Regions from separate parts of the Homo sapiens genome. Here regions 2 and 3 are each linked to region 1. The links are contacts of gene promoters, found by promoter capture Hi-C in blood cells and fetal thymus (Javierre and others, 2016). All regions are on one chromosome and are shown on one strand. The core of a region is centred on a gene start or on the middle of the fragment in contact, and the rest is flanking DNA. Distances in the headings are between cores, read along the strand shown.

Region 1 (2,907 bases), core at 408-2,907:
GTTGCTTTTTGAGACAAAGTCTCATTCTGTCACCCAGGCTGGAGTGCAGTGGCACAATCTCGGCTCACTGCAATCTCCGCCTCCCAGGTTCAAGAGATTCTCATGCCTCATCCTCCTGAGTAGCTATGATTATAGCACCTGCCACCACGCCAGGCTAATTTTTTTTTTTTTTTTTTGGATTTTTAGTAGAGACGGGGTTTCACCATGTTGGCCAGTCTGGTCTCAAACTCCCGACCTCAGGTGATCCACACGCCTGGCATCCCAAAGTGCTGGGGTTACAGGCGTGAGCCACTGCGCCGGGCCTGTTTGTTTTTTGAGACTGGGTCTCACTCTGTTGCCCAGGCTGGAGTGGGGTCTTCGTTCACTGCAACTTCTGCCTCCTGGCCTCAAACGATACTCCTACCTCAGCCTCTTGAGAAACTGGGACCACAGGCTCGGGCCACAGGCCCGTTTTTTTTTTTTTTTCCAATTGTAGCTGTGAGGCATTTTATTACAAAAACTTGGTACTCGTATACACAAACTAACATGAACTTAAAATACATTTTCTTCATTTTTTAGCTTGACCTTCTTTTTTTTTTTTGAGACGTGGTCTTGCTCTATCGCCCAAGCTGGAGTGCAGTGGTGCGATCTTGGCTTACTGCAGCCTCTGCCTCCTGGGTTCAAGCGATTCTCCTGCCTCAGCCTCCTGAGTAGCTGGGATTACAGGCTCCCGCCACCACTCCCGACTAATTTTTTTTATTTTTAGTAGAGACAAGGTTTCACCATGTTGGTCAGGCTGGTCTCGAACTCCTGATCTCGTGATCCGCCCGCCTCGGCCTCCCAAAGTGCTCGGATTACAATGACAGGATGTGAGCCACCGCGCCCAGCCTGTAAACCCTTTTGAAAAAATTCCCCAGCGCATTACTCCAAAACAACGTGGAAGTGTAAATGGAAACCAGGGCTGGGCGCGGTGGCTCATGCCTGTAATCCCAGCACTTTGGGAGGCCGAGGCGGGCAGATCACCTGAGGTCGGGAGATCGGGACCCGCCTGACCAACATGGAGAAACCCTGTCTCTACTAAAAACACAAAACTTGCCGGGCATGGTGGCACATGCCTGTAATTCCAGCTACTCCGGAAGGCTGAGGCAGATGAATCGCTTGAACCTGGGAAGCGGAGGTTGCGGTGAGCCGAGATCACGCCATTGTACTCCAGCCTGGGCAACAAGAGCGAAACTCTGTCTCAAAAAAAAAAAAAAAAAAAAAAAAAGGAAACTTGGACCAAAAAAATCAGCAAAAGTGGAGCAGGGATGTCTGAACACAGATGAGTCTAATTCCCTGCTTGGAAAGCAGGACACCTGAGTGTGGTTTGGCCTCTGACCACTGTAGCATTTACGACCTTGGGGAGGGTTACCACTCTGGGACCTCAGTCACACTATCTACAAAATGGGACACTTCTCTCAGCCTTCCTTCTTCCGGGCCGCTTTCAAGCCTGGGCTTCTGGAAATACGCAGGCGCGAGATGAATTGTTTGATTGGCTATTCATTGTGATGCACCCACGAGCTGAAGCTCCGTCTAAGCCCCGCCCTTTCCTGTCGTGACTTAACGCACGCAAGCGGCTCCAGGGTACGTCCCCGCCACGCGCGCTCGCAGGATCGGTGCGTGGTGACGTTTCGCCGGCGCGGGCGCCATCCCGGAAGCGCGAGCAAGGCCGCCAGATGTGCAGGTGCCGCCGCTACCGACGCCGGGGCCGAGTTTGGGGTGGGGCTGGGGACTCCAGGGCCGCGGGGAACCGGTCCGGGTCGGGCGCGGCCCCCGGGCTGCGGTGGGGTGGGGTGCGCCACTGGCCACATCTGGTCATTCCTGCTGCGCACAGGCCTCAGTTTCCCCGTCTGCTCAATGGATACGCAGGCGGCGCTACGGGCTGGATCTGGATCCGGATCAGGGGCATAGGAATTGGGGCCTCCTGTGTTCTGGGTGTGTCGTGTAACCTGGAGCTGGGCGTTGCCCGGTTTGTGCCTCAGTTTCCCTGTATTGTAGGGGACGGGGCGTGAGGGGATATTTGAGCCCCTCCCCACTTGGGGTTTTTCAGAGCTTGGATGGCTGAGTTAAATTCTGTTAAATAACCTGGATATAGAACCGTGGTGCTTCTCTGCCTCTCCCTGTGAGTTTCGGCAACGGAGCCCGCCCCTGTGAGCCTCAGTTTCACTCGGAGATGATTGTGTCTGCCTCGTAACGGTGATTGAGGATGAAATGAAGTGCTCTACAAGTGTTTGCCCGTAATATATTCTTAGAGGCCCCTGGGATGCTCTCAAAATGTTGATTCCCGGGACTTCTTCACACTCCTCTTGGAGAAACAGCCTGTCCTGAGCTCCAGTCGTTATCACCTTTGGTTTCAGTTGCCACAGACAGCACTGTGAGATCTTCATTCTACCTTATTTTCATTTTATGGTTGAAAAAACTGATTCAGAAGGGTGAAGTGGCTCTCCCATGGTCAAACAGCCTACCTCTCTGCGTTTCTTCAATAAATCTACATTTGGAGTTGGGATCAGAGCTCTTGCTGGGTCAATTTCACTGTGTATGTGGGCCAGACTAGCAGTAATCAGGGAAGGCTTCTTGGGAGAGGAAGTTGCGGGGGGACGGGAGGGAGGTGCCAGGAACCCCTCAGCCCTCACATCTGGGAGCCAGAGACAGAAAAGAGTCCTGTTTTGAAGGAGGAGTGTATCCCAGAAGGTCCCAGTACTGTGTCTCACTGGTACTAGCTATGGGCCTCCCTCTCCAGGTGTCTTTTTTTTTTTTTTTTTTTTTTTTTCAGTTGAGATGAAGTCTCCCTCTGTAGCCCACACTAGAATGCAGTGGCTTGATTTTGGCTCATTGCAACCTCTGCCTCCCGGGTTCAAGCGATTCTCCTGCCTCAGCCTCCTGAGTAGC
Region 2 (2,907 bases), core at 239-2,738, 360 kb after region 1:
ATGTATGGGAGGCTGGGCACGGTGGCTCACACCTGTAATCCCAACACTTTGGTAGGCCAAGGCGGGCAGATCACAAGGTCAAGAGATGGAGACCATCCTGGCCAACATGGTGAAACCCCGTCTCTACTAAAAATACAAAAATTAGCCGGGCCATGGTGGCGCGCGCCTGTAATCCCAGCTACTCGAGAGGCTGAGAAAGGAGAATTGCTTGAACCTGGGGGCGGAGGTTGCAGTGAGCCGAGATCACGCCACTGCACTCCAGCCTGGCAACAGCGCGAGTCTCCATCTCAAAAAAAAAAAAAAAAGAAAAGAAAAGAAAAGAAAAAAGAAAGATGTATGGGAACAGACACACAACTCTCCCTCCCAGATAAGCACAACGAAGAGACACAGAAGCAGTTCAAGCCTCTGATAAACTCTCCGACCCTGAATCCTTAAAAACTCTTAGTCTGTAAAAGAGTGTTACTCTGACCCAACTCCGCCAGAAGGCGCCTCTCAGGTTTGTTTTCTCTAAAATAAACCTGTCTTGACTGGCAAGCCACCTTTCGTGTTTCTTTCCTCTTTAATTCTTACAACTTTGTCACCCAGGCTGGAGTGCAGTGGCGCGATCTCGGTTCACTGCAACCTCGGCCTCCGGGTTGAAGCGATTCTCCTGTCTCAGCCTCCCGGTAGCTGAGATTACAAGTGCCCGCCACCACGCCCGGCTAATTTTTGGTAGACTCATGGTTTCTCCACGTTGCCCAAGCTGGTCTCGAACTCCTGGGCGCATGCGATCTGCCCGCCTCGGCCTCCCAAAGCGCCAGAATTACAGGCGTTTGAGCCACTGCGCTGGGAAACTGTGTTTATCATTCTGAGTCCAGCGGAATACAGTGCCCGTCCAAAAAAGTGCTCAATGAAGAATGAATGAATGAATGGGTAAGCTCTGGGAGAAATAACCAGGCTGGTTGGGCAGGGAAACGTCCTTCTCTGAACTTTAGGGTTCTCATCCGTAAAATGAGGATAAGCAACAGTCTCCATCTCACGGGAACTGAAGGTATGGCTGAACAAAATAGGCTTATTGTCACTACAGTGGCATAAACACCTCCCTTACTCAAAACACTTTCAAGGGCGCAGAGAGAACGCTGTACGAGTGAGCAGTACCGTAAACTGTTACTGCTCTGGGTTCTGTCACGGGACAGTGACTACTCCTCACTGAACTGTGGAAGAGGTGGCCCAAAAAACGCGAGAAGAAAAGAGAAAGTTTTTAGACGCAGAACGCGGCTCGCGGCCACCAGAAAGCGTCCTCCGCCTCCGCCCCCAGCGTCCCCGCGCCCCTGCGCGGCCGCACCTTCACCCGCTGCGCCTCGTTTATGCACTGCTGGTAGCTGCCGATGTAGAAGGCGTTCTTTACGTCGAACAGCTCGTCTACCTCCCCGGAGCCGCCGGAGGCCGGGCCGGGGGCCGGAGGCGCCATTTCGCTGTCTTCTCACCAGCTCCTCTTCCTGAAAGACACGTCAGCCGGAAGCAAGACACGGGCACGCTAGGAAATGTAGTTTACTTTTTCCGAGCGGCGGCGAAGTAAGCCAATGGGAAGCTCCACAATAATATGCAAGGGGGCGGAAGGCGTAAGTGCGTCACGGAGAGCATCTCGGGAATTGTAGTGTGTTTCTGCAAGCCAATGGGATCCGGGGAAACATGATAAGGATGCGGTCGAGGCTGGGAATAGGCTGAGGGAGCTGGAGAGGGTGGGACCACGCAGGAGGCAGATCCAATAAACAGGAAGATTTTTCTCGTGACGTCGTCGGCGCGCGCCGGAAGCGCGGATCACACGGGCCCCTACAAGGGGCCCCTACAAGCGGCCACAAGGATGGCAGGCTTCGCGGAGCTCGGGCTGTCATCGTGGCTCGTGGAACAATGTCGGCAGCTGGGTTTGAAGCAGCCCACGCCCGTGCAGCTCGGCTGCATCCCCGCCATCCTGGAGGGTGAGTATGGCCCAGGGCCTTCCCCAAGAGGCCTCTCCGCTCCTCTCGACTCCTTTCCCTTCTCGCAACCTTTGCTTATTCCGGTCCCACGAGGCGAGGGGCAACCTCGGGCGTTACAGGAGATCCGGGGTTCCGGAGGACGACTGGACAGTGTTGGCATTTAGGTTGCATGACTGACTCGCTTTGTGTTCGTACGCAAGTGATGTAATCTCTGAAATTTTCATAGTCTCAGCACAGGGAGGGTTTGATGGATGACTAGTCCGATAGTATCGCAAAATCCTGCAGACCTGGTACTGCTATCTTTATTTTACAAATAGAAGTTGAGGCTGTCAAAATTGCTGGTAGATCCAGGACTCCTTGGTCCTGTGATTGCTCCTCTAGGAGAAGGTCTTCTCTCTGCTCCTCTAGCCCAACCCAGTTTCGCCATTAAAGAGAGGCCCACAGGAAGCCTAAGATGTGATAAGTCAGGGATTAAATAAACAAATGAAGGGGTCAACAGGGAGCACAAGATGCATATGAGGGAAGGGAATTCTGGATTCCCCAAATTCACGTGCTCCTGGACGGAGTTAGAACGAGGTGGTAGGAAGCTGTGGGCATCTCGGGTCAAATGGATATGGGTTCCAGTCCAGCCTGCCACTCACTGGCAGTGTGTCCTGGGCAAGGTCTCTGAAACCCAGCTGTCCACACATGGAGGGTGTTGATGCTGCTTTGTCCCCAACCCAGGTCGAGACTGCTTGGGCTGTGCTAAGACAGGCAGTGGGAAGACAGCAGCGTTTGTCCTTCCCATCTTGCAGAAGCTGTCTGAGGATCCCTATGGCATCTTCTGCCTCGTCCTGACACCCACCAGGTAAGCCCCCAGCAGGCCTCCTGGGTATGGGTTAACCAGCTGTGCTCTCTTGGGCAAGCACCTTTCCCTCTCTGAGCGCCCTTTTCCCACGTGTGAGATGAG
Region 3 (2,907 bases), core at 243-2,742, 310 kb after region 1:
ATATTAATAAACAGTTTTGACTTCACACCAAGGTTGGATAAACTGCAGGGGGTGGAGGGTGCTGGGGTTTTGCCTTGGCTGAGTGACGGGTTGGGGTGTGAAGGAGGCCAGAGGGAGACAGGCAAAGCCCAGAAGGGACAGGTCTGCCTTGCAGGACTGAAGGGCGACCCCTGCCCCTGGGCCCTTCCCGTAGGCAGCACCTGGGCCTGTCCGGGCGGCTCCCCGGAGTGGCGCGTTAGGCCTCTGGCAGGTGGCCTGGAGGTGGAAAGGCCTATCCGATCACCAAGACTGAGGGGCGCCCTCCCCACCACCCAGGCAAGGAGTCCAAGGAGACCAGCGGAGCAGACCACGCGGCATTTATTGTTGGGCCCGCGTCCCTGCCCGCCCCGGGTTAGCGGCAGCCGCACTCGTCCACCACCATGTCCTCATACTGCCGCAGCACCACGTTGTCGCTGTTGTCAAAGAAGAGCACGGAGATGGGCGACAGGCGCGCGGGCACGCAGCAGGGCAGGTCGGCGGCTCCCGGGGCGGCCGCGTGCATGAGCGCGCGCAGCACAGCGTGGTTGAGCGCCGGCGGCCCCCCGGACCCCGACAGCGCGACGGGCAGCGCGCACTGACCCTGGCAGTAGTTGGCCAGGAAGCCGCGCGGCGCGATGACCCAGCGGTGCCAGCCCACCTCGCGGAAGCTCACGTACAGCCGCCGCGCGCGACAAGCGCCCCCGGGGCCGCCGCCCAACACGGGTTCGGCGTCGCGCCGCGGCCGGGCCAGGGGGTGGCACAGGCGCGGGTCGAGGGTCACCAGCAGCAGCGAGGCCTCGGCCAGGCGCGCGCAGGCGGCAGGGGCCCGGGGGCGTAGCGCCAGCGCCAGGCGGAGGCTGCGCGGCCATGAGGCGTTGCGAGCCCAAGCGGCGCCCAGCAGCTCCGCGCGCACTGGCGGCCCCAGGGCGGGCACCAACTGGCGGAGCAGCACCGGCCCGGGGTCCGCGCCCGCGCCCTGGCCCGCTTGCGCCACGCTCAGCTCCCAGCCGCCCTCCGGGGCTGCCGCCGCCGCCGCCGCGAAACGCAGCTCCAGGCGGGCCCGGCTCGGGCGCTCAGCGGGTTCCACAGCCGACAGGTCGAAGACGACTGTCCACTCAGGGCAATGCCCCGCGGCCGAGGCAGGCTCCGAGGCCCGGGTGGGCGCACCTGGGGAGGTAGGAACAGGAACTCGGCTCGCGCTGCGTCCCCGGCCTGCCCATGGGGTCTCGGTTAGGGACAGGGAGGAAGGTGAACGCTGGGGCTCGGGGCGCACCGTCTGTGGGAAGGGTGTGAAGCGGCGGGGTGGGCTGATGGAGTGGGGGCAGGGCATGAGTTCCAAGGAAGGCGCCCTGCGGGGTGCGGCGGGGGGGGTGGGCTGCCCTCGGCGGGGGGCATAGGAGGAGGGGTGGCCGAAGTGGGAGACATGAGCCAGAACCTGGGCCCCTGGGGAAGCCATGCTAGGGTGTGGGGATGGCATCTGCAGGAAGGCATTAGTGTCAAGAGGTGGGGGTGGGCATGGGGTGGGGACAGGGCTTCAGCATCAAGCAGAAGGACTGGTCTTGGGAACCCCCTGACATGTGTCCCCGGCGTGCAGCAGATGACGAGGAAAGGGTGAGGTGCGGTGGCCGAAGTTGCTAGTAGCCTGGACAGGGCGGGTGGGGACCCTCGGAGCTGCTCGGGCATCCCCGGGCCACTCTCGAGGCTCGCCCTGCGAGGTCTGGCCTCCAGGACCAGTGTCCCCAGCGAAAGCCCCACTCACCGCGGTCCGGGATGTGGCGCACGATGTTTCCGGCGACCCCCAGCTCCTCCACGTGGCACGGTTGCAGGGTGACCCCTGGGGACGTCCGCCGCGAGCCAGACCTGGTCTCCTGGGGGTCCCGGCGTCGAAACAGGCGCCACATGACCGGGGGAACCGGCCGGAGCCTGGGGGCACCCTGGGGCTCATCGCGCAGTCCTAGAGCCTGGAGCAGGGCGGCGGCTGGGCCTGGGGGCACGGGGGCGCGGGTCAGGGGCAGCGAGGGCAGCAGCAGGGCCAGGAGGAGGAGGAGGTGGTGGCCGCAGGGACCTTGCTGCGGCGGTGGCATCTTCCTCCCAGGCGATGACCAGAGAGTGCGCAGGGTCCGCGGCGGCCCGGGACCAGTGGGCTGAGGGCGGGGCCGGTGTCCCCGGAGGGGCAGGGGTCCTGGGGGGCGTGGCCGGGAACTGGAGGCAGGATGAGGGGGCGGGGTCCCAGGGGAGGTGGCGGCGGCCCTAGAGGAGCAGAGTTGGAGGGGGTGGAGGGGCGGCCAAGGACGGGGAGCGTGGCCGGGGTATTCGGGGTGGGGCCGGGTCCACGGGGGCGGGGCCGAGGGGTTCAGAAGCGCTTGTCCTTCACCAGGCCGTTCCTCAGTGGCTTCCTGGGGGTCAGAACCGGCGCAGGTTAGCCTGGGAGCCCCACGCGGCCGCCTGGCCCTCTTTCCCGCTTCTTCTCTGGCCGTTTCACACCCCCTGGCTCCTTTTACCCGGCCAGGCCCGGGCCTCGCCTTGTGGCTTCCTCCTCGCCTTCACCCTGCCCCTCCTTGCCTTCACCCTGCCCCTCCTTCAACCTGCCCCGTAGGCACGTATGTCCCCCCTGGCACCCTGGCACTTCCTCCTTGCTTCCCCCTCTCCAATTAAACCTTCCTCTTCCCCTCCTCCCTGCCTCTCCAGGCCGCTGGAGGGCAAAACCCACGTACCGGCCTGGGCCTGACAACTCCACCGCCTCCACAGTGGGACCCTGCACATCCTCCTCTCCTCTGCCACCCACCCCACGAAGGCTAGTCCTTGACTCCAGTGGCCCTGGCTGGCATCTGCTGTCTCCACCTACTTCCCTTCCATGTTCTTTTATTTTCCTTTTTTTTTTTTGGTCTT

What was found. Contacts are between HindIII fragments. The CHiCAGO score rates a contact against its expected background, and 5 or more counts as called.
Region 2: the fragment with the promoter of COPE here is called in contact with the fragment with the promoter of KXD1 in region 1 in 1 of 17 cell types (neutrophils); the score reaches 6.7 in neutrophils.
Region 3: a contact is called between a fragment that was not itself captured here and the fragment with the promoter of KXD1 in region 1, in 1 of 17 cell types (M0 macrophages). The highest score is 5.4, in M0 macrophages.

Annotation. Positions count from the first base shown.
Region 1 is chr19:18,556,213-18,559,119 of GRCh38, forward strand. It overlaps KXD1 (KxDL motif containing 1), which reads left to right and starts at 1,658. Exons shown (of 5, transcript NM_024069.4): 1 at 1,658-1,702. RefSeq lists enhancers at 685-1,476, 1,477-2,266 and a silencer at 1,757-1,916. The HindIII fragment of the contact is 7,069 bases long and covers 1-2,907 here.
Region 2 is chr19:18,917,899-18,920,805 of GRCh38, forward strand. COPE (coat protein complex I subunit epsilon) reads right to left here and starts at 1,489. Exons shown (of 10, transcript NM_007263.4): 1 at 1,325-1,489. The coding sequence starts at 1,450. DDX49 (DEAD-box helicase 49) reads left to right here and starts at 1,817. Exons shown (of 13, transcript NM_019070.5): 1 at 1,817-1,958; 2 at 2,682-2,805. The coding sequence starts at 1,844. RefSeq lists enhancers at 1-589, 1,492-2,091 and a silencer at 1,222-1,411. The HindIII fragment of the contact is 20,861 bases long and covers 1-2,907 here.
Region 3 is chr19:18,868,206-18,871,112 of GRCh38, forward strand. It overlaps CERS1 (ceramide synthase 1), which reads right to left. Exons shown (of 8, transcript NM_021267.5): 7 at 1,778-2,414; 8 at 340-1,185. The coding sequence ends at 2,372. GDF1 (growth differentiation factor 1) reads right to left here. Exons shown (of 8, transcript NM_001492.6): 7 at 1,778-2,414; 8 at 340-1,185. The coding sequence starts at 2,102. The coding sequence ends at 392. It overlaps UPF1 (UPF1 RNA helicase and ATPase), which reads left to right. Exons shown (of 24, transcript NM_002911.4): 24 at 1-25. Among named protein-coding and RNA genes, the nearest start is that of CERS1, 26 kb to the right of the region's middle. The HindIII fragment of the contact is 5,071 bases long and covers 1-2,907 here.